Regions from separate parts of the Homo sapiens genome. Here regions 1, 3 and 4 are each linked to region 2. Evidence: promoter capture Hi-C in human tissues and cell types (Jung and others, 2019). All regions are on one chromosome and are shown on one strand. Each heading gives the region's core, a stretch centred on a gene start or on the middle of the fragment in contact. The rest is flanking DNA. Distances are from core to core; before and after follow the strand shown.

Region 1 (5,071 bases), core at 1,508-4,007, 290 kb after region 2:
TTGGCATCTCTATTAGCCCTATCTGTTTCTCCAGGTTTCAGATTTGCCTTTGCAATCTCACTATTGGACATTTCCATGAGGATGTTTCTTTGGTTCCCCAAACTGAACATCAAATTCATCCTCTTTTTTTCCAAACCTGTTTCTCCTCGCCCTCCTTTATTTCCAGTCTCTTCTGGAAGTCTTGCCATTCTCTAAATCATCTTATATGGCTAAAGATAGATACATAAGCTGGCCTTAAAGCTAAATTCTAGACAAATTCTTTTGAATACAATAGGGCACCCAGTTCCTCACCAGGTCTAAAATCCAACCATTAAAACTGCTCATTAAAATCCAACCACTGGGGCCAGGCATGGTGGCTCATGCCTGTAATCCCAGCACTTTAGAAGGCCAAGGCAGGAGGATTGCTTGAGCCCAGGAATTCAAGACCAGCCTAGGCAACAGGCAATATAGTGAGACCTCATCTCTATAAAAAGGTTTGTAAAAATTAGCTGGGTGTGGTAGTGCATACCTGTAGTCCCAGCTACTCAGGAGACTGAAGTGAGAGGATCACTTTGTTACACATGGAGGGTCTTGACTACAGGTCGTCCACGTTCTTGACATTTTGAACAAAGAATTGGACAAAATGCACAAATAAAGCAATGAAAGTACAGAACAATGAAAGAAACAATAAATGCTCAGATTTATTGAAACGAAACCACACTCCACAGAGTGGGTATGGGCTCGAGTAGGCAGCTTAAGACCACCAGTTACAAAATCTTCTGGGGTTTAAGTACCCTCTAGACGTTTCCCATTGGTTGCGCCCTATGTAAATAAAAACTTGGCCCACAACCAATTGGAGGCTGAAGTGAAGTTATACCCTATGCAAATGAAGATGTGACCTACAACCAATCAGAGGCTGAAGTGAAGTTACACCTCATGCAATGAAGACTTGGTCTGTGACGAGTTGGAAGCTGAAGTGAAGGCTCCCTGTCTCCAGACCCTACTGAGGAGAATACTCTCTCAACTTGAGTCCAGGAGGTCAAGGCTGCAGTAAGCTACGATCACACCAGGGCACTCTAGCCTAGGTGACAGAGCAAACTACCGCCACCACCCCCGCCAAAAAACAAAAAAAAAAACCTGACCATGAAAACCCTGCCATAATGAATTCAAATTTAAAATTTCTGTAATCTGCATTTTACCTAATCTAAAAATGTCAGGAATCCTTGTAGCCTCTTATACCAGCCACTATACTAACCATATACTAATACTAAACATTCCTGCCAGAACTTTGAGCCCCAATTCATTTATTTCTCTACTGATTTACTGAAAGAGCCAGTATCTACTTGAACTGTTACATTGCTAAAAAGCTCACTATTTCTTGGGACAATTCATTGCCGAAGTTATTAGGGAAATGTTCTTTTTTTTTTTTTTTTTTTTGGAGAGCTTATCTTCCCTTTGGCTTCTACTGATTATCTCGGGTTTTGTCTTCTGGAACGTTGTTTGTTCTCTTTTTTCTACCTTACTTTCTCTCTGATTACCTAAGGTAACCATCATCAAGTCTTCAAGGTCTTCTCTCTTCCAAACTAAGCATCAGCAAATTCAACTGTTCTGTGAAGTGGCATCCAGGCCCATCTCCTTCCTGATCACTCCCTAACCAGTCTAGCCCCATGGATTTGGGCACCAATGGTGACTCTAGATGCTAAGCATCTTCCTGCCTGAGTGTCTTTATCACACTGGACTGACTCACCTACCCCCTAACCCTATTTCTCCTTCTTGCCACAACTCAGGAAGCCCATTGTGTTGCCTATGATGTTCTGTACCTGCTTCTGAGAAGCAATGATATTGTATCTGGCATCAGAAGATTCTACAGAGTCAGGGATTCAGCAAGAAGGACTGAGCTCAGGGAAATAGCCATGACTAAGGGCCCTTCTTTGCCTGATCCTGCAACACTCTTCCATTTTCATTTCAATTTGTTAAAGGCATGAAGATGTCATCCAACCATAGCTCCATTTAGAGGTTCCTCTACACAGCAAAACTCTGAGAAGTTTTACTGAGAAGGAGAAGGCAAAAGAGAAGAGAGGAGCAGAAACAGAATTGTCCATGACAAGAGCACAGAGATGACTAAAGAGTCAACCAGAGGAACAAAAAGGAGATGATGAATCAGTGTGGTGAAAGGCTCTGTGTAAAGGGGTGGAGAGTGGGGAAGGGACAATGTGGACAGAACCAGCCAAAGCCACACTAGGCTTGTGTGAACTCATGAGTACATAACTGGCTTCTCTAATAAGGGAGCAGTGGGGTCAGCTTAACTTAGGATGCCTTGTAAGCTTGCAAAGAAGCATTTCAGTAAGACAAGGTCACCACCTCAGCCTATCAAAACAGGAGGGAGAGGGGGACCACCGTTCTGTTTGACTTCTGGAGAGAATTTTTAGAACTTACAGAATGCTGGCCGGGCACAGCAGCTCATGCCTGTAATCCCAGCACTTTGGGAGGCTGAGCTGGGTGGATCACTTGAGCCCAGGAGTTCGAAACCAGCCTGGGCAACATGATGAGACTCTGTCTCTACTAAAAATTAAAAAAAACAATAACTAGGCATGGTGGCATGCACCTGTAGTCCCAGCTACTCAGGAGGCAGAGGTGGGAGAATAACCTGAGCCCGGGAAGTTGAGGCTGTAGTGAGCCATGATCACACCACTGCACTCTAGCGTGGGCGATAGGAGTGAGACCCCGCCTTTTTTTTTTTTTTTTTTTGAGATAGAGTCTAGCTCTGTCACCCAGGCTGGACTGGAGCGCGATCTCGGCTCACTGCAAGCTCCGCCTCCCGGGTTCACGGCATTCTCCTGCCTCAGCCTCCTGGTGCCTGCCACCATACCCAGCTAATTTTTTTGTATTTTTAGTAGAGACGGGGTTTCACCATGTTAGCCAGGATGGTCTCGATCTCCTGACCTCATGATCCGCCCCCCTCGGCCTCCCAAGGTGCTGGGATTACAGGCGTGAGCCACCATGCCTGGCCCCCAGACCCTGTCTTAAAATTAAAAAAAAAAGAACTTACAGAATTCTGTAAGAGATCATCTGTGTCAATGAAATTATCTTTCTTTTTCTTTTTTCTTTCTTTTTTTTTTTTTTTTTTTTTTGAGATGGAGTCTCGCTCTTGTCGCCCAGGCTGGAGTGCAGTGGTGCAATCTTGGCTCACTGCAACCCCTGCCTCCCGGGTTTAAGTGAGTTTCCTGCCTCAGCCTCCCAAGTAGCTGGGATTACAGGCGCCCGCCACCACACCCAGCTGATTTTTTGTATTTTTAATAAAGACCGGATTTCACCATGTTAGCAAGGCTGTTCTCGAACTCCTGACCTCAGGCGATCCACCTGCCTTGGCCTCCCAAAGTGCTGGGATTACAGGGGTTAGTCCTCACGCCCTGCCTGTGTCAATGAAATTATCAGATATTACTCTCCTGCACTCTGCAGACGAGAGTGTGGTAATGGACAATGTGGTTTGTTTTCTTGCTCTGTGTGTGTGTGTGTGTGAGAGAGAGAGGGAGAGAGAGAGACAGAGAGAGAGAGAGACAGAGACAGAGACAGAGAGAGCGAGCACGGGGAGGGAGGGTAAACTGGAGGAATAAAGCCCAGTATTTGAATGTTATCTTCCTGTTATATTCCTTGGGAAGGAATACAGATGATTCCTCTGGCCACTCAGAGTTGGGAATGGACAGAAAAACAGGGCTATGATTCCAGAGCTCATGACCCTTAGATGAGCTCTCTGAGTAAGGAGTGAGACTAAAATCCAGGCTGCAACCCACCCGTGCTGCTTCCTTAAAGGAAATCCATGCCCACTGGAAGCCTCCACCCAGGGGAGCCCCCTGAGCTGCCCCTCATTCACATAGGTCTGAGCCACAGAGGAACTCTTCCCACTCCACAGAAACTTGGGTTCCAGAATAAAAACAGAGAGAAGCTCTTTCAACAACAGGCGGGGCCACTGAGCTTGAACTGTGACCAGAGATCTGGTATTTTTCTCAAAATGCAGCCCATGGACCCACAGTGCCCACGTCTTCCGGAGCTTGTAGAAATGCAGAATCACAGGCCCGCCCCACACCCATGGAATCACAATCTGTATTTTAACAAACTCCCTGGGCGATTCATATGCACCTTACAGCTTGCGAAACATAAACTTTACCTACCCGTTATACAATGCCCCTTGCTCTGAGACCGGGAAAACGTCACTTTGTATCCCGTAAACTGGTTCATCCTCCACTCCACACAAAGCCCCAAATCCACAGGTCAGTTTCTAGATGGCCCATTCCGGTTTAATTAATTATTGATACATGATCTTGGATGGTGAGTGTCACTGTTAAGAGTTGAATTGTGTCCCTGAAAAATTCACATATTGAAGTCTTAGCCCCCAACACTCAGAATGTGACTTGATTTGAGAATAGTATCATGAAGATGTAATTAGTTAGGTTAAGATGAAGTCACGCTGGAGTAGGGTGGACATCTAATCCAATATGGCTGGTGTCCTTATAGAAAGGGGAAATTTGGACACAGGGAACACACAGGAGAATGCCATGTGAAGATGAAGGCAGAGCTCAGAGTGACGCTTCTATAATGCCAAGAACACCAAAGACTGCCAGCAAACCACCATTAGCTAGAAGAGAGGCCTGGTACAGATCCTCCCTCACAGCCCTCAGAGGAAACCACGCTGTCAACCCCTTCATCTCAGGCATCTCAACTCCAGAACTGTGAGATAACACATTTTTGTTAAGTCATCTAATCTGTGCTACTCTGTTATGGCAAAGTTAGCCCTAGCAAACTAATGCAGCCTCCACTTTCCCACCTGAAAAAGGGGCATGTAGATGGATGGTTTCTTTCCAGCTCTAAGCTTTTATGACATATTATTTCCTGATCTAAGATTCTATGTCTCTTATTTCAGTAAGTCCTAGGAACATGGATTAATATTTAATTTCATGCATGTTTTAAACATTCCTTTTTCATTATGTTTAAATTCTATGAAATCAACACGTTCATGCCTGAAAAGCCTCAGTTCTGAGCTGCACTTACTTGTTATATAAGACGATGTCTGGCCTCCACACGAGGTCACTGGGGA
Region 2 (5,221 bases), core at 1,902-4,401:
GGATATGGAGTGCAAAAAAAGAAAGAAAGGATATACCCATTTCATAGGTGTCAGTGGGCAAAACTGAAGAAGGAGCAGGCAACATCTGAAAAAGGGTAACTGACCCTCTTTGAGATGAGGACTCACTTCCTGAAGTGGAACCTGAGCCTCCTCAAGCAGGAGTTTTCCCTGACTCCAGTTCCAGTTCACCTGGAGTCACTGACCTCCACACTTTCAAATTTCTTTTATTTTTATCATTTTTTAAATTTATTTATGTGTTTATTTTTTTTTTTGAGACGGAGTCTTGCTCTTTCGCCCAGGCCGGAGTGCAGTGGCGCGATCTCGGCTCCCTGCAAACTTCACCTCCCGGGTTCAAGCCATTCTCCCGCCTCAGCCTCCCGAGTGGCTAGAATTACAGGTGCCTGCCACCATGCCCAGCCAATTTTTGTATTTTTAGTAGAGACGGGGTTTCGCCACGTTGGCCAGGCTCATCTGGAACTCCTGACCTCAGGTTATCTGCCTGCCTCGACCTCCCAAAGTGTGGGGATTACAGGCGTGAGCCACCGTGCCCAGCGAGAATGTCCCCTCTAGAATCCTTCAGCTCAGACAGTCTGTGACAGCGAGCCTTTTTTGAGGCCATAATCCAGATACTTCTGGAAAAGAAAAGAAAATTTCAGGCTAATATGGAGCTGGGTTTTTTAGTTGTCTTAAGGGGGTGGAGCCGTTGTTTGTGCCTGGCAGCATCAACCCTTAGGTCTGGTGAGGGAACTTAGCTAAGAGAGTTCCCACTGCCTGCTGTTCACAGTACATGCTGGCTGGTATCGACAAAGAATGAACCTAAAACACAGGAAATGTTGAATTTGTCTGGGTTAAATTTTGCCTCATGAGAAGATAAAAGATCAGAAGGATTTAAAATGTTCCAGAATGCTTTGCTGGTTTTAAGGAATCATTTTTCCCAAAGGTGGCAAATGCTGCTTTTTAAATTTATGGTTTTCTTGATACCCCTTCAGCCTTTGTTTCTCTCTCTTAGGACTACTACTTTTTAATTAATTTTCACTTAACTTTCCAATACTGATGAAATAAAGAAAAATGAGGGTTATTTATATATATTTTAATAAATCCAGTTTGATTTTTCAACTTAAAAAAAAATTAACTAGAACTGAGAACCAGTCCTGGCCTCACCACCTTGGACTTACACTTAACCTGTGTGATCTCAGTGTCTTCATCTGCAAAATGGGGACAAAATAGCTCATAGGATCATTTTGTAAGGATCACATAAAGTAAGAAGGGTGAAAGTGCTCCATAAAGTAGAAAGGGCCTCACTAATGGAAAGGGATTATGATTTCTTTCTTTAAATGTGAAGTTAAATGGAGGATAAAGGGTGGAGGCACTGATAACATTTTAGCCTTCAATAATCACTTTTTAATATTTATGAGGAGTTTCAAAATCATTTCCCTCTCTTTCATACTGCTTTTCAAACGGCAAGGGTCATTATTTGTCCGGCCCAGTCTGGGATAAGTAACTATCCCAGGGTAAGACACCAGGTCAAGTGCCAAAATACAAATGAGAATTAAGCATAGCAGATGGGTGATTGCTGGGCCCTGAATTTCCTTCCCGTTAGTGAGCTTCATGGAATGCAGGCAAATTTATCTCCATTTCTGTTGTCAATCTTGTAACTTTTAAGTGAGATGAAATTCAGTTGGCTACCCTTTACAGGGACTTTATTTCCCATTGTATTCAAGACTGTCAGCAATGAATATAAACTGTTTGTAAAAATCCCATCGTTAGAATCTTCCAGAAACTGAGGCTGGGAGAGATTAAATATCTTGCTCATGGCCTCACAGCTGGTGAGTGGCAATGCTGGTGCTACAGCCCATGTCTAACTCTGACCACACACTCTTCTTCAGAAAAAAGCCATAATGTAAATAATAATAAGAAGAATAACAACAACAATAACGGCAGCTAACACTGTGTGCTAGGCACCGTTCTAAGCTCTTTGCATGTGTTAACTCAACCAGCAAAGAACCATTTTTGGAACATTCTTTCACTAAAGTAGCCCGGTATTTTTTTCTTTCCCCTCAGCTGAATGACACTGCAACCCGAAATCACAACTCTGTTTTAGGTTCCTGGTGGTGCCTGCTTCCTCTTCTAGTTTGTTTAGTCACAGAATTCGATTCCTGTTGGCCCATTCCGCGCCTACAAACAGGCTTAGCGCTCCACTGAAATGCGGGAGGCTCCTTAACTCTTGTATAAACAGGTAAGGCGGAGGGGGTGGGGCGCGGATTGCGGACATCTGGGTTTCTTGGGAATTGGGATGGGGTGGGGGTTCGAGCCAACTCCCCAGAGAGCAGGCAAGGTGAAGCGAGGGCTTGGCTGCTGTTTCTAAATGCAGTGTTTTTTTGTTCCCTTTCTAGAAACCCTCCGTAACTCTAGGTCAGAGCGCACTAAAATGAGCCACTTCTGAACGAGCAGCGCCCAGGCCCCAGGCCCTGCTGCGAAGGCCCCGGCAAAGGTCAGGGCCCCGTCCGCGTGACGCTCCTGCCTGCGCGCGGCCAAGCCATGCTCGGCCCCAGGTAAGGACGCCCCGGGAGCTCGCCCCGGGAGCTCTCCCCGGGCACGCGGGGGTCGCAGAGATCCCACCTCGTCCAGCGACTTGTTTATGGGGGGAAGAAGGGGAGCGGGGCGGTTCCGATCGGCTTGAAATTCAGCAGCAGGTTCCTAATTTCTCCAACGTGGTTCTGGCTGGGTTTCTCGGAGCAGCCCGAAGGGGGCCGAGCGTCTGACTCGGACAGATGCCCCCAGGTGGAGCAGGTGCCACTTCTGGGTGTCTGAAAGGCATGTGACTTTTGGGGCGGGGAGAGAAGTCCGTCTGGTCAAGTCCCCCAATCTCTGCCATCAAGGCCGATTTTCTTTGAACCTTCAGCAAAGGTATCTGCGCTCCTAAAAAACAACAGGAATGTGGCACTGGCCTTTAGCCAGGGGAGGCTCAGCCAGCAGGATAAAATTTCAGGGCAGATTTACGGGAAGTTGCCGGTGTTGGGAGTAAAAATCTGGTTTGGTGAGTTTAAGGGAAGGGAGTAGACGAGAGACAACCTTGCTACTGTGAGGCGGATGGCCTCGGCAGGGGGCGGGCGGCGGGAGGAGAGAGGGAGGGAACCGGGAAGGGCCCGCAGACTAGACGCTGAGCGCTCCCGTGCGCAGCGCCCCACGCAGCCGGGACGCGGCGCCGCTCTGCGGGTGGAACCGCCGCGCGCTCCCGGCCTCGGGAGCTGAGCCCGAGAGAACTTCGCTGCCTTCGGGTCGCCGCTCCCGCTTTCCACTGTGGAATGTGCAGCTTGGGATAGAGAGAAACCAGGGTTTGGGGAGCGGTCCTCCTGGAGACTTTCTCTCTGCAAGTCTCCAAGGTTAAGCAATTCTGACCCACTGGAATTCCCAGAGCCTGGGAGTTAAGCCTAAAACGCTCTGTTGCTTTAAGCGGCGCGGTGGGGAGTCGCTGGACACTCCTTATTTTGGTTTTACATTAAAAAGAAGGCGGACGAGAAGATGTTGTAGGTGACTTCCTAGCTGTGTTAAGTTGCTCCTGGGCTGTGAATGGTGTTAATTTCTGAAGTGGGCGGCTCCAAAAACTTAACAAGGAAAGGTAAGGTGGTTTTTGGTAGTCCTTCTAACTATTGTCCCTTAATCTTACATTTGGGTCCCAATTTTTGAAGTGTATATTTTTTTCTTATTCTTCTCTCTTTAGCTCTTATCCCTCATGCTATCACTCATCTTCTGTCTCTTGGTATATTTAGTGGGAAATAAAGGGTTTATAAAACGGTTTTAAAAGGGTCAACCTCTGGGAAGGCAGATAATCATATACAGTCAGTCCCATCGTGTTTCCTGTAGTGATGAATCTTTTCCCATAAAAGAAACTGATTTTTTTTTTTCACTCTTGAAAATACATGATTGGACCGCCCAGAAGCACAGGTGACTTTAGACTCAGATTATTACAGTGAGACTGAGGAAGCGTCCTGGACAGGAGGCATCTCATTTAAGTGTTAACCAAGGCAGAGGGGGGTCTTCCTGCAGTAATTTACGTCTGAAAGTAACACTCGGTAGAGGTGTAGTTGTTTCAAATTAAAAATTCAGCCTGTAGAAAAGGGTAGGACTGACGAATTATGACATCTGACAAATTAGCAGTTGACCGGATATTTAAGAAATCAGATAAAATAAATGGAAGTGGAATTTTTCAAATAAATGACTCATTTTTTAATTAGGTAAAAGTTCAGCCACTCTTGGGTACTGTCCCAAGGCATAAGTGATAGGAAGATACCATCTTCAAGGTACTTACAGGCCATTACCGACCTGAACTAAAAATCAAACCTTTTTTTTTTATCTGGTGGTATTTTAATGACTCACTGTTTTCTTTAGCAGGAATATAGATTTTAAAATGTATTCTTTAAAAGTTTTAAGGCAAGGTCATACGAATTTCTCAGGGGAGGGAAAGCAAAGGGTTGACAACCCAACATGAAGGAGTTGCCGAAGTTTTGAGCTCAAAAGGTTGGCAATTAGATCCAGAGCATTTGAGAATTGCAGGTGCCGATTCTAAAAGGTGAAAGGTGGTCAGCGGCGTAACACACAACCTCTAGATAAACCAAAGTACTCAACCTAGAGCATAAGAAGAGATCACTTTGTGGGAGTTTGTGTTGCTATTAATTTAAACAATGATCTTTGTTAGATCAATGACTTGAAGTCTTGGAGGGAACTAAAATCAACCCAGTCTGAAAGGAAAACAGAAGGAAAAAAAGAAAGGAGGAGATGGTTTGGTTTTTAATATTTTTTTCTGGTCTGCTTTACCCTTCACCTTGTTCTGATATACACACTGTTGGCCTCTTTGACTTAATTATTGCATGCTGGAAGGATGGGGTCTCAGAAATTTCCCAAGCACCTAGCTTCATTATTAACTTTCAGTATGTGTCAAATGAAGAAATAAGCCTAGCTGTGCCGTCCTTTACCTGGCTAGGTAGGCCATGCTTTAAATTAATTAGATCAAGATATTCTGAATATCAATCAATTATTAAAGATTTATTATCTTCCTCTTGGTTTTTGCGTTTACAGAAGTTTGTAGGATTGAGAATTCATCATCATCATTTTTTTTACCAATCTCTATATTTTTAATAGTCAACATATTTATTTTTGATTCCCCCACTGTGCTGCTTTAAATTAAATTTTGAAAGAATTCTGCCCAAAGCAGTAGTGATAC
Region 3 (5,320 bases), core at 1,899-4,398, 310 kb after region 2:
AAGCTTACAACACTGACGACATCTCTAAAAGTAGAGAGCAAACATTTGCTTCATGTCTGATACTCTGTGACAGACGCTCAACTCATACTTGAACCCAGGACATTAGACTTGCATTTCTTTTCCACCGGATCAGACTATACTTCACCATCCATTTTGGCTAGAATGTGCTAACATTTTTGCCCTGCAGGCACGAGCTGCCCTCTGCGTAGCTCTCTTCCTCGTTTCCATGGCTGCATTTCTTTTTCCTGCGTAATTGAAAACCCCAACTGCAGAGGCAGGTTTATTTATAGCTGAAAAATTAGTGTTATTTAGCTTGAGCTTTTCTGCAACCATCAGTCCATTACTGTAAGAGCATCCACATTTACATTGCAACATCCTTCTGTTTTCCCAGTGCCCTGTAATTCTTAATTAGCTACTCAAAACAATGTTTATTGAATGTCTATAGAGAGAGAAACCTGATCCAGCCTTTTTACATCCAAAACCAGTATCTACCCAAAGCTCAGACTCTCACATACCAACCACTTCCTGGACAGCTCTGCTTGGAGATTCCATAGCATTTCAGATGTGGTCAAGTGGAACTCACTATCTTCCCCTGGCCTGCCATGGGTTCCTGGTTTTGATGAAGAAAGTCACCATTTCCCAGTCCCCCATGCCAGATACTGGGAGTTGTCCCAGATTCCCCTCACATACTACTACATCCCATCTGCTACCAGGCTCCATCAATCCTGTCTGCTAAGCCCACGCCATCCCTCTTATCACCCCAAACCCCTACAAGGTAGTATTTCCTGGACTATTGAAAACCATCTTGGGGCTGTTCCTTCTTCCTTCAGTCTCCTTTTCCTCTAGTCCCCACTCACACTGCTGTTACTTCAATGTTTTGGACTCTGACCATGTTACACTCCCCTGCCTGTATGAAATCCTCCCATGTCCCCCATCACCCACAGGATGAAGGCCCTGCTCTAAATCATGGCATAGGAGACCCTTCAAACTCTCTGTCCTGCCTTCCTCACCAGGTGCATCGCCTGCCATCCCACATAGCTTTTTTTCTCTTTTCTTTTCTTTTTTTCCCCTCTATTTATTTATTTATTTATTTATTTAAGACGGAGTCTGGCTCTGTCGCCCAAGCTGGCGTACAGTGGCACGATCTCGGCTCACTGCAACCTCCACTTCCCGGGTTCAAGTGATTCTCCTGCCTCATCCTCCTGAGTAGCTGGGATTACAGGCATGCATCACCACACCTGGCTAATTTTTGTATTTTCAGTAGAGACGGGGTTTCCCTATGTTGGCCAGGCTAGTCTCAAACTCCTGACCTCAGGTGATCTGCCCACCTAGGCCTCCCAAAGTGCTGGGATTACAGGCATGAGCCACCGCACCCGGCCCCACATAGCTCTAATAGCAAGGTGATTTGCTGCACTCTCTCGGGCCTCCATGCTGTTTCCATGTTGTCCCTCAGCCTGGAATAGTTGTCCCCTCCATGCCCAACCAGTGAACAGCTTCTCTTTCAAGTCTCATCTTGAAAATCACCTAATCGAGAAAGCCCTTTCCAACCTCCCAGGCAGAATTCCGTGCTTCCTCTCCTATGTTCTTGTGGTTTCTGGTACATACTTCTATCACAGTGCCCATCCCGTTACTCAACTGTTTACCTATTGTCTCCCCGGCCAGACTGAGCATCTCTCAGATGCTCCATTTGTCTTGGTATCCCCAGTATTTGATATACAAGAGGTGTCCAATAAATGCTCATGAAATACATGATTGTAGTGGTGAGAGCCAGGCCTGACAGAGATCTCTTGATTGGCAGTCACCCTCCTCCCATGCCACAATTCCCCAGGCAGTCTTGGCTGGCCTTCCCTGGGCAGTGACGCTTCTGGTGTCCGCGGTGAGAGGATGGTGGCAGCTGAGTGTCTTAACCTTAATGTGCACACACCTGTGCCAAGCATGGCTCCCTAAAGGGCAGCCTTAAGAGCAAGATGAAACAACCTTGGATGTAAATGCGCCTGGCAGAGAAACTAGCCCCACTGTGACCCAGCTTGTCAGAGTGGATCCCCGTTGCGGAACGGATGTGCTGTGTTTGGGAGCTGACAGATTCCAGTCAAAATGGAAGGACCTAAATGAATTTAGATTCCACCTTTGACCTAGCCTGGATGCAGAGGCTCATGCCTGTAATCCCAGCACTTTGGGAGGCCGAGGCAGGCAGATCACTTGAGATCAGGAGTTCGAGACCAGCCTGGCCAACATGGCAAAACCCCACCTCTACTAAAAATATAAAAATTAGCTGGGCGTGGTGGCAGGCGCCTATAATCCCAGATTCTCGGGAAGCTGAGGCAAAAGAATCACTTGAACCCGGGAGGTGGAGGTTGCAGTGAGCCGAGATCGCACCACTGCAGTCCAGCCTGGGCGACAGAGTGAGACTCTGTTTCAAAAAAAAAAAAAAAATTCTACCTTTGACCTAAATCCAGTGTAGTAATAGCCAAGATAAGTAAGATAAGTACAAGCTCAAGAGTTAAGCTTCTGGAGAAAAGAGAACTGTATTTAACTTAACTTAGGTTGTAAGCCCCTCAGCAGAGGGGAGTGGATCACCTTTTTGATGAGAATACATGTTTTAAGATAAATATTAAAACCACTTCCAGCTGGTCATGGTGGCTCACACCTGTAATCCCAGCACTTTGGGAGGCTAAGGTGGGTGGATCACAAGGTCAGGAGTTCGAGACCAGCCTGGCCAAAATGGTGAAACCCCATCTCTACTAAAAATACAAACATCAGCCTGGCATGGTGGTGGGCGCCTGTAGTCCCGGCTACTTGGGAAGCTGAGGCAGGAAAATCGCTTGAACCCGGGATGCAGAAGTTGCAGTGAGCCAAGATCTGGCCACTGCACTCCAGCCTGGGTGACAGAGCGAGACTCTGTCTCAAACAACACAAAACAAAACAAAAAAAATATTTCCTAGTTTCCCAGTAGAAACAGGCACTGAGAGGTGAGTTTTGATCAGAATAGTGCTGCAAAATCCACTCATACTGCAAATATTTACTGAATGCTGGGCAGAGAGTTCACAAGAATTAACTACACATCATCTCATCCTTCAAGGTGATTATGGAATATTTAGAGGAAAAAGACAAATTTCTAAGAAAAGCTGAATAACAATAAAAGTTAAATAAGTAATGCAAGCAAGAAGACTATTTTTTTTTTTTTTTTGAGAGAAGTCTCACTCTTGTTCCCCAGGCTGGAGTTCAATGGCACAGTCTCGGCTCACTGCAACCTCCATCTCCCGGGTTCAAAAGATTCTCCTGCCTCAGCCTCCCAAGTAGCTGGGATTACAGGCGCCTGCCACCAGGTCCGGCTAATTTTTTTGTATTTTTGGTAGAGACGGGGTTTCACCATGTTGGCCAGGCTGGTCTCAAATTCCTGACCTCAGGAGATCCACCTGCCTTGGCCTCCCAAAGTGCTGGGATTACAGGCGTGAGCCACTGCACCTGACTCTTTTTTTTTTTTTTTTTGACAGGGTCTTGCTTTGTCACCCACTGGAGTGCAATGGTGCAATCTCAGGTCATTGCAACCTCTGCCTCCTGGACTCAAGCGATCCTCCCACCTCGGCCTCCAGAGAGCTGGGACCACAGGCACCGCCACCACATCCAGCTACTTTTTTTTTTTATTTTTAGTAGAGACAGGGATTTCACCATGTTGCCCGGGCTAGTCCCGAACTCCTAAGCTCAAGCGATTTGCCCACATCAGCCTCCCACAGTGCTGGGATTATAGGCGTGAGCCACTGCACCCTGCCAACTATTCCTTAAAGGCGTGACTCGCTGCCAAATGAGAGGTCTGAACCAGAAGTTCAGAGAAGGGAAAGAAGGTTGTGCCTCCAGGGTGGACTGATCCATAGGAGGCAGAGACCAAAAACGAGGCTCTCACTTGACGGACTGGACCAGCAAGATGGAGTGCATGGTGGAGGCGTGGGGGTGCATCTTGGTAGAAAAAAAGCCTTTGGGATTTGGGACTGGAGTTTCTGTTCTGTCATTTATTAGTGAGAGATCTCAGGCATTTTTAAAAAATCTTCTTTGCACCTCAGTTTCCTCATGGGTGAAAGGAATAATATTATCTACCCCACTGGGCTCCACATATCATTCAGACCACAAGCATCTGTGGAGTCTACTTATACTAAGCCCTTTTGATAAGCCCTGGAGTACAAGATGAAAAGAGAAGGGCCTGCCCTCAAGAGCTGCCAGAGAAGGAGGGGCAGTCACTGTTGGTCCCTCTCTTCATTTACCTTCCAGGGGTCTGTCTTTTTGTTTGTTTGTTTGTTTGTTTGTTTTGTTTTGTTTTTTGTGTGTGTGAGAGATGGAGTCTCACTCTGTCATCCAGGCTGGAGTGCAGTGGCACGATCTCGGCTCACTGCAAGCTTCGCCTCCTGGATTCAAGCAATTCTACTGCCTCAGCCTCCGGAGTAGCTGGGACTGGAACTACAGGCGCCCGCCACCAAGCCCGGCTAATTTTTTTTTTTTTTTTTTTTTTTTTTTTTTTTTTTGTATTTTTAGTAGAGACAGGGGTTTCACCGTGTTAGCCAGGATGGTCTCGATCTCCTGACCTCGTAATCTGCCCGCCTCGGCCTCCCAAAGTGCTGGGATTACAGACAGGCGTGAGCCACCGTGCCCGGCCCAGAGGTCTGTCATTTTAAAGCAGCAGTGGTCAGAACCATGAGCCACATACATGGAATGCAGGACATTGGTTCAGAAGTTTGAAGACAGAACAAGCTCTTCACCATCCACAACGGAAGGTTCCTGCCTTCCTGTCCCGCGTTCTGTGAGGAAATGCGTCTGTCCCTCTGGAGCTCCTGATTTTCAAGGCTTCTCCCCTGAGCTTTGATGAAGTCTGGGGGAGCCAGCGTCAAAGGCAGCACACTCTAGTCACCTGCGATCGTTACCCAAAGAGCCTGCTGTTGACCTCACGTCACTTCATTTTTTTAATTGCAAAAGACAACCACTAGGGGGCCTAGGAGCGAGACGCTGAGCTCCGATTCCATTTATCAGGCAAATAGCCTTTCCTTCTTGCTGAAAAACGCAGTCAAGGTCAACAAAACACACACCGTGGGCTGAGAACAATACCTTCTGCACCTTCTGCAAACGCTTAGTGAAGAACGCATCTCCCTTGAGGCTAAAAAATATTCTTAACTCAGACCATCCTCCACAGCCCATCAGGCTGGGCCAAGCGTTTCTTAGCCCTGATTCCATTTTTCAGTGTTTCCTTCTGATTAAAAGCCCTTTGGCACAGCAGGATTGTCTATAATAATGGTAAATGACTCACATGATGATGAGGCAATCTTTTCACATCCTG
Region 4 (5,422 bases), core at 685-3,184, 270 kb after region 2:
CATCTGTGTCCTGCTGGAAGCCTGAATGATCCAGGAGGGAAATTTGACTGACAAGAGTAAAGAGACAGAAATACACAAAGGCAAAAGAGGTTTTGTCATGGGGTTTTATTTTTTAAGTGTTGGAGTGGCTTGGATATATTGATAAGCTCATGAAGTTTTAACAGTCAGGTCTTATTTCAAAGGCGTAATCTGAGAGGAAGGAAGAAAAGGCAGAGAGCTCTTTGCTCTCTGGGGTTGGTGACATGTCAAGTGGCCTCACCACAATTGCTTCAGATGTTCTAGAACTTGTGTTTCCAGTTTGTCCAAGACAGTCCAGTTGCCAGGTTTGTCCCGGTTGCATTGGTAAAGCGTTGGTCTGAGCCCTAAGCTGACGGAAAAGGAGACACAGAGGCTAAAGAAGGAGAAAGAACAAAGGTCAGGACCTCAACAAACCTGGACACACCTCAGCGCGCTGAGGCAGTCAGACAATAAACAAAGTAGTTGGTGTTTTCTTAAACTTTGCAAGGCTCTGGATCACCCAGCCCTGCTCACCTTGCCAATCTCGACTCTTATGTCTCTTGGGTCATTGATCTGATTTCACTGTTCTGCCTCAGGGGCCTCCTCTCCCTTTCTCCAACGTCAGGAGCTGTGTTCTGCCCTTGAGCCTGAGCTCCTACCTGCAACCTGGCACTTCTCCCACCTCTAACCCCGGCCAGCTCTTTCTCACCCTCAGGTCTCATCTGAAACACCACTTTCTCCACAGGCTGCCCACCCAACCCAAAGCAGTCCCTTGCTTTATCTCCAGAGCACCCTGGCTCCTCTTCCATAGTGGCTACCACTTCTTAAAATGCATGGAGGTGAAGAATTTTATTTAGAAAGTCTAATTTTTGGCCGGACGTGGTGGCTCACACCTGTAATCCCAGCACTCTGGGAGGCTGATGCAGGCAGATCACCTGAGGTTGAGAGTTCAAGACCAGCCTGACCAACATGGAGAAACCCCCTCTCTACTAAAAATACAAAATTAGCCAGGCGTGGTGGCACATGTCTGTAATCCCAGCTACTTGGGAGGCTGAGGCAGGAGAATTGCTTGAACCCAACGGGAGGCGGAGGTGGCTGTGAGCCGAGATCACGCCATTGCACTCCAGCCTGGGCAACAAGAGCGAAACTCCATCTCAAAAAAAAGGAAGTCTAATTTTCTTACAAGCTTTTTTGTTTGTTTGTTTGTTTTTGTTTTGACATCTATGTCTTTAATCTGTCTGAAACTTATTTTTGTATACAGTAGTCTGATTGTCTCAATAGCTATACAACATTTACCTTCCCGCTTTGCTGTAGTATTTTGTATTTTGTTTGTATTTTTACTTGCATTGCTTATCCAGGGAACTCTGTACCAAAGCATGGCTAAGAGCAGTTGAATGAAGCATCTCTTCTATTTTTCCCCTTTTCTGTCTTCTTTTGTGTTGGAAATAGTTTACCTTTCCTCGTGTTTCCTTTTTCAATTTAGAAGACACAACTAATATTTCTATACTTTTAAGGCCATTCCTTAAATTTTTGGCATCTATTCAAATATGATATATTTTACTAATATTAAAAGTAATTTGTGGCTGGGCACAATGGCTCATGCCCGTAATCCCAGCACTTTGGGAGGCTGAGGCAGGCAGATCACTTGAGGTCAGGAGCTCGAGACCAGCCTGGCCAACATGCCAAAACCCCATCTCTAGGAAAAATACAAAAATTAGCCAGGCATAATGGTGGGCGCCTATAATCCCAGCTACTAACGAGGCTGAGGCACGAGAATTTCTTAAACCCAAGCGGCGGAGGTTGCAGCGAGCCAAGATTGCAGCAGTGCACTCCAGCCTGGGTGACAGAGTAAGACCGTATCTCAAAAAAAAAAAAAAAAGTAATTTGTTATCTAGACAAAGACCTTAGTGTGGTTTAGGTTCCATCTTACCTTCCCCTTCTTAATTTCCACATCATTACATAGAGTTTTTGTTCTACCTTATATGAAACATGTCTTTGTATTATTAATAATACTATTGCAATAATTACACTATACACAATCTAGGCTCATTGCAGCCTCCACCTCCTGGGTTCAGGCAATTCTCCCACCTCAGCCTCTCGGGTAGCTGGGATTACAGGGGCGCTCCACCATGCCTGGTTATTTTTTGCATTTTTAGTAGAGCAAGGTTTCATCATGTTGGCCAGGCTGGTCTCAAACACCTGACCTCAGGTGATCCACCCGCCTTGGCCTCCCAAAGTGCTGGGATTACAGGCATAAGCCACCGTGCCCTGCCACAAATTATATTTTATTGATGTTTTTCTCATTGTTGCTTTCTGTATTTTTCTTCCTTCCATTAAGTTCACTTTTGTTCTTGTTGAAGTTATTTAAATTAAGGGTCAAGGGTAAGGGCAAGGTAAGTATTGTTATTTTTTTGTACGTCTACATTTTTTTCTGCAACTGTGAATAGTTCAGCTGAGTGTTCAAATTTTATGTTGACAGTCAATTTTCTTTGGCATTTTGAAGATATTACTCCATGTTTCTTGGCTTCTATAGTTGCAGATGAGAAGTCTGTTGCCAACTCAATTGCTGTTATTTTGAAGGCAGTCTGTTGCATAATATAGGAGGCTTTTCATGGTCAGCATTTCTGTAGTGATTTGTTGGACTCTCTAACAGCTCTTCCTTTCACCCGGTCATTCATTTAACAATTGTTTACTGTTTAATGATTGTGTACTAGGCCTGTTATTGTGCACAATGACGGAGAGAATAATGACAGAGCTTCTGGGCCCCAGGTCTGGAGAGGGTCTGAATATACTTGGGGAAGTAGACATGAAAATGAAGAAATGACCGCATAACAAGATAAAGCTTTAATGATGCAGACTGATTGTGAGTTTCTAGAATTCTGGCAAGGAATGTGATTTTATTCTATTGAGTTTCTCACAGTTTGTAGCACCATGTCTTACCCACTGAAATCAGTTAAAAATACTTTAACAATTAACCTGAGTATAACATCTCTTTAATATTTTTCTTTTTCTTTTTTTTTTTTTTAACTGAGACAGAGTCTTGCTCTGTCACCCAGGCTGGAGTGTAGTGGCGTGATCTTGGCTCACTGCAAGCTCTGCTTCCTGGGTTCACGCCATTCTCCTGCCTCAGCCTCCAGAGTAGCTGGGACTATAGTTGCCTGCCACCACGCCTGGCTAATTTTTTGTATTTTTAGTAGAGATGGGGTTTCACCGTGTTAGCCAGGATGGTCTCGATCTCCCGACATCGTGATCCGCCTGCCTCAGCCTCCCAAAGTGCTCAGATTACAGGCATGAGCCACCACACCCCACCTAATATTTTTCATTTTAAAATTATTTTAGCTTTCACTTTTCTCCAGTTTCAAATGCATGGTCGACTACTTACTAGCTATCTCTGCCAGGATTTCCTATGAGAATTTCCAGCTCAAGATGCCCTACAAAGAATTCTTTCCTCCAATACCTGGTTCTCTTTTACTCTTCACCTTGATTGTCTGCATTATTCTCAATGCCATCCTCTCCCTAAGCCCGTATCCAACTAGCCTGTCTATTCTAGGTCATAAATATTTTGTGATCTGTAATCTTATCCATTTTCTTATTCCCACCATCTTGGGTCAAACCTTCATTATCACTTTCCTAAACAGGTAAAAAAAAAAAAAAAATCCCAATAGATCTCCCTGCCTTTTACCACTTTTCTCTACAGTCTTTTAATTGCCACCACAGTCTTATTTCTTAAACATTGGATACTGAATTGGTTTTCTATTGCTGCTATAACAAATTACCATAAATTTCATGTCTTAACCCACATTTGTTATCTTGGAGTTTGGGAGGGTCAAAAGTCTGGAATGGATCTCACTGGGCTAAAATTAAGATATCAGCAGGGCTGCTTTCCTTTTGGAGGCTCTAGGGGACAATCTGTTGCTTTGACTTTTCCGATTCCTAGAGGCTGCTTCTCACACTGTTGGTTCATAGCTCTTTTCCTCCATTTTTCGAAGTCAGCAACATTGGCTGAGTCCTTCTCATGATACCATCTCTTTGGTTCTCTCTCTTCTGCCTCCCTTTTCTACTTAAAAGGATCTTTATCCAGCTGGATAATTTAAAATTATCTCCCCACCTCTAGGTCAGTTGATTAGCAACCTTAACTTCTCATTGCGGGGTAACTTAGCACACTCACCAGTCCTTCACATTAGCACTTGGACATCTTTGGTGGACCATTATTCTGCCTACCACAGGTTCAGTACAAATTGAAGAACGCATACCTATAATACCAGAGTCTTTGGGAGGCTGAGGTGGGAGGATCACTTGAGGCCAGGAGTTCAAGACCAGCCAGGGCAACAAAATGAAACCCCATCTATACAAAAAATTATTTAAAAATTGAATGCTGTCTGGGCAGGTGGCTCACACCTGTAATCCCAGCACTTTGGGAGACTGAGTGGGAGGATTGCTTGAGCCTAGGAGTTTGAGACCAACCTGAGCAACATAGTAAAACCCCATCTCTATAAAAAATTAAAAAATTAGCTGGGCTTGGTGATGCATGCATGTAGTCCCAGCTACTCAGGAGACTGAGATGGGAGGATGACGTGAGCCCAGGAAGTCCAGGCTTCAGTGAGCCGTGATTGCATTACTGCACTCCAGCCTGGATGACAGAGCAAGACCCCATCTCAAAAATGAAAATAAGTCCAGATGCGGTGGCTCATGTCTGTAATCCCAGCACTTTGAGAGGCCAAAGCAACCAGATCACCTGAGGTCAGGAGTTCAAGACCAGCCTGACCAACATGGAGAAACCCCATCTCTACTGAAAATACAAAATTAGCCGGGTGTGGTGGCACATACCTGTAATCCCAGCTACTCAGGAGGCTGAGGCAGGAGAGTCGCTTGAACCCAGGAGGCGGATATTGCAGTAAGCCGAGAGAGAGCCACTGCACTCCAGCCTGGGCAACAGAGCAAGACTCTGTCTCAATAAATAAATAAATAAATATAGCAGGACAAAATAGTAAATACATAATGATTATAATTATAGCAGAGAAACTAGACACATAAATATGATTGAAGGAAAATAATAGTAAATGAATAGTTGTTATTGCTATGATTGTGGAACTTGAGTAATTGTTATTCTTTTTTTTTTTTTTTTTTTTTTTTGAGACAGAGTTTCGCTCTTGTTGCCCAGGCTGGAGTGTAAGGGCGCAATCTTGGCTCACCACAACCTCTGTCTCCTGGGTTCAAGCGATTCTCCTGCCTCAGCCTCCCGAGTAGCTGGGATTACAGGTATGTGCCACCACACCCGGCTAATTTTGTATTTTCAGTAGAGATGGGGTTTCTCCATGTTGGTCAGGCTGGTTTCAAACTCCTGACCTCAGGTAATCCACCCACCTCGACTCCCCAAAGTGCTGGGATTACAAGCATGAGCCACCGTGCCTGGCCTGTTATTCTT

What was found. Contacts are between HindIII fragments. The study calls those that stand out against the background at their distance.
Region 1: a fragment that was not itself captured here is called in contact with the fragment with the promoter of RBM47 in region 2 in 2 of the 25 tissues and cell types used here (ovary and pancreas).
Region 3: a contact is called between a fragment that was not itself captured here and the fragment with the promoter of RBM47 in region 2, in 1 of the 25 tissues and cell types used here (lymphoblastoid cells).
Region 4: a contact is called between a fragment that was not itself captured here and the fragment with the promoter of RBM47 in region 2, in 5 of the 25 tissues and cell types used here (heart right ventricle, liver, mesenchymal stem cells and 2 more).

The regions. Positions count from the first base shown.
Region 1 is chr4:40,337,319-40,342,389 of GRCh38, reverse strand. It overlaps CHRNA9 (cholinergic receptor nicotinic alpha 9 subunit), which reads right to left. Exons shown (of 5, transcript NM_017581.4): 3 at 5,026-5,071. Among named protein-coding and RNA genes, the nearest start is that of CHRNA9, 4.5 kb to the right of the region's middle. The HindIII fragment of the contact is 7,431 bases long and covers 1-5,071 here.
Region 2 is chr4:40,627,794-40,633,014 of GRCh38, reverse strand. It overlaps RBM47 (RNA binding motif protein 47), which reads left to right and starts at 3,151. Exons shown (of 7, transcript NM_001098634.2): 1 at 3,151-3,619. RefSeq lists enhancers at 3,288-3,357, 2,540-3,417, 3,418-4,294. The HindIII fragment of the contact is 13,848 bases long and covers 1-5,221 here.
Region 3 is chr4:40,316,951-40,322,270 of GRCh38, reverse strand. The region is part of intron 2 of LINC02265 (long intergenic non-protein coding RNA 2265); the gene reads right to left. Among named protein-coding and RNA genes, the nearest start is that of LINC02265, 12 kb to the right of the region's middle. RefSeq lists enhancers at 4,951-5,250, 4,859-5,320. The HindIII fragment of the contact is 3,787 bases long and covers 1,255-5,041 here.
Region 4 is chr4:40,358,664-40,364,085 of GRCh38, reverse strand. No RefSeq gene overlaps it. Among named protein-coding and RNA genes, the nearest start is that of CHRNA9, 26 kb to the right of the region's middle. The HindIII fragment of the contact is 6,053 bases long and covers 1-4,960 here.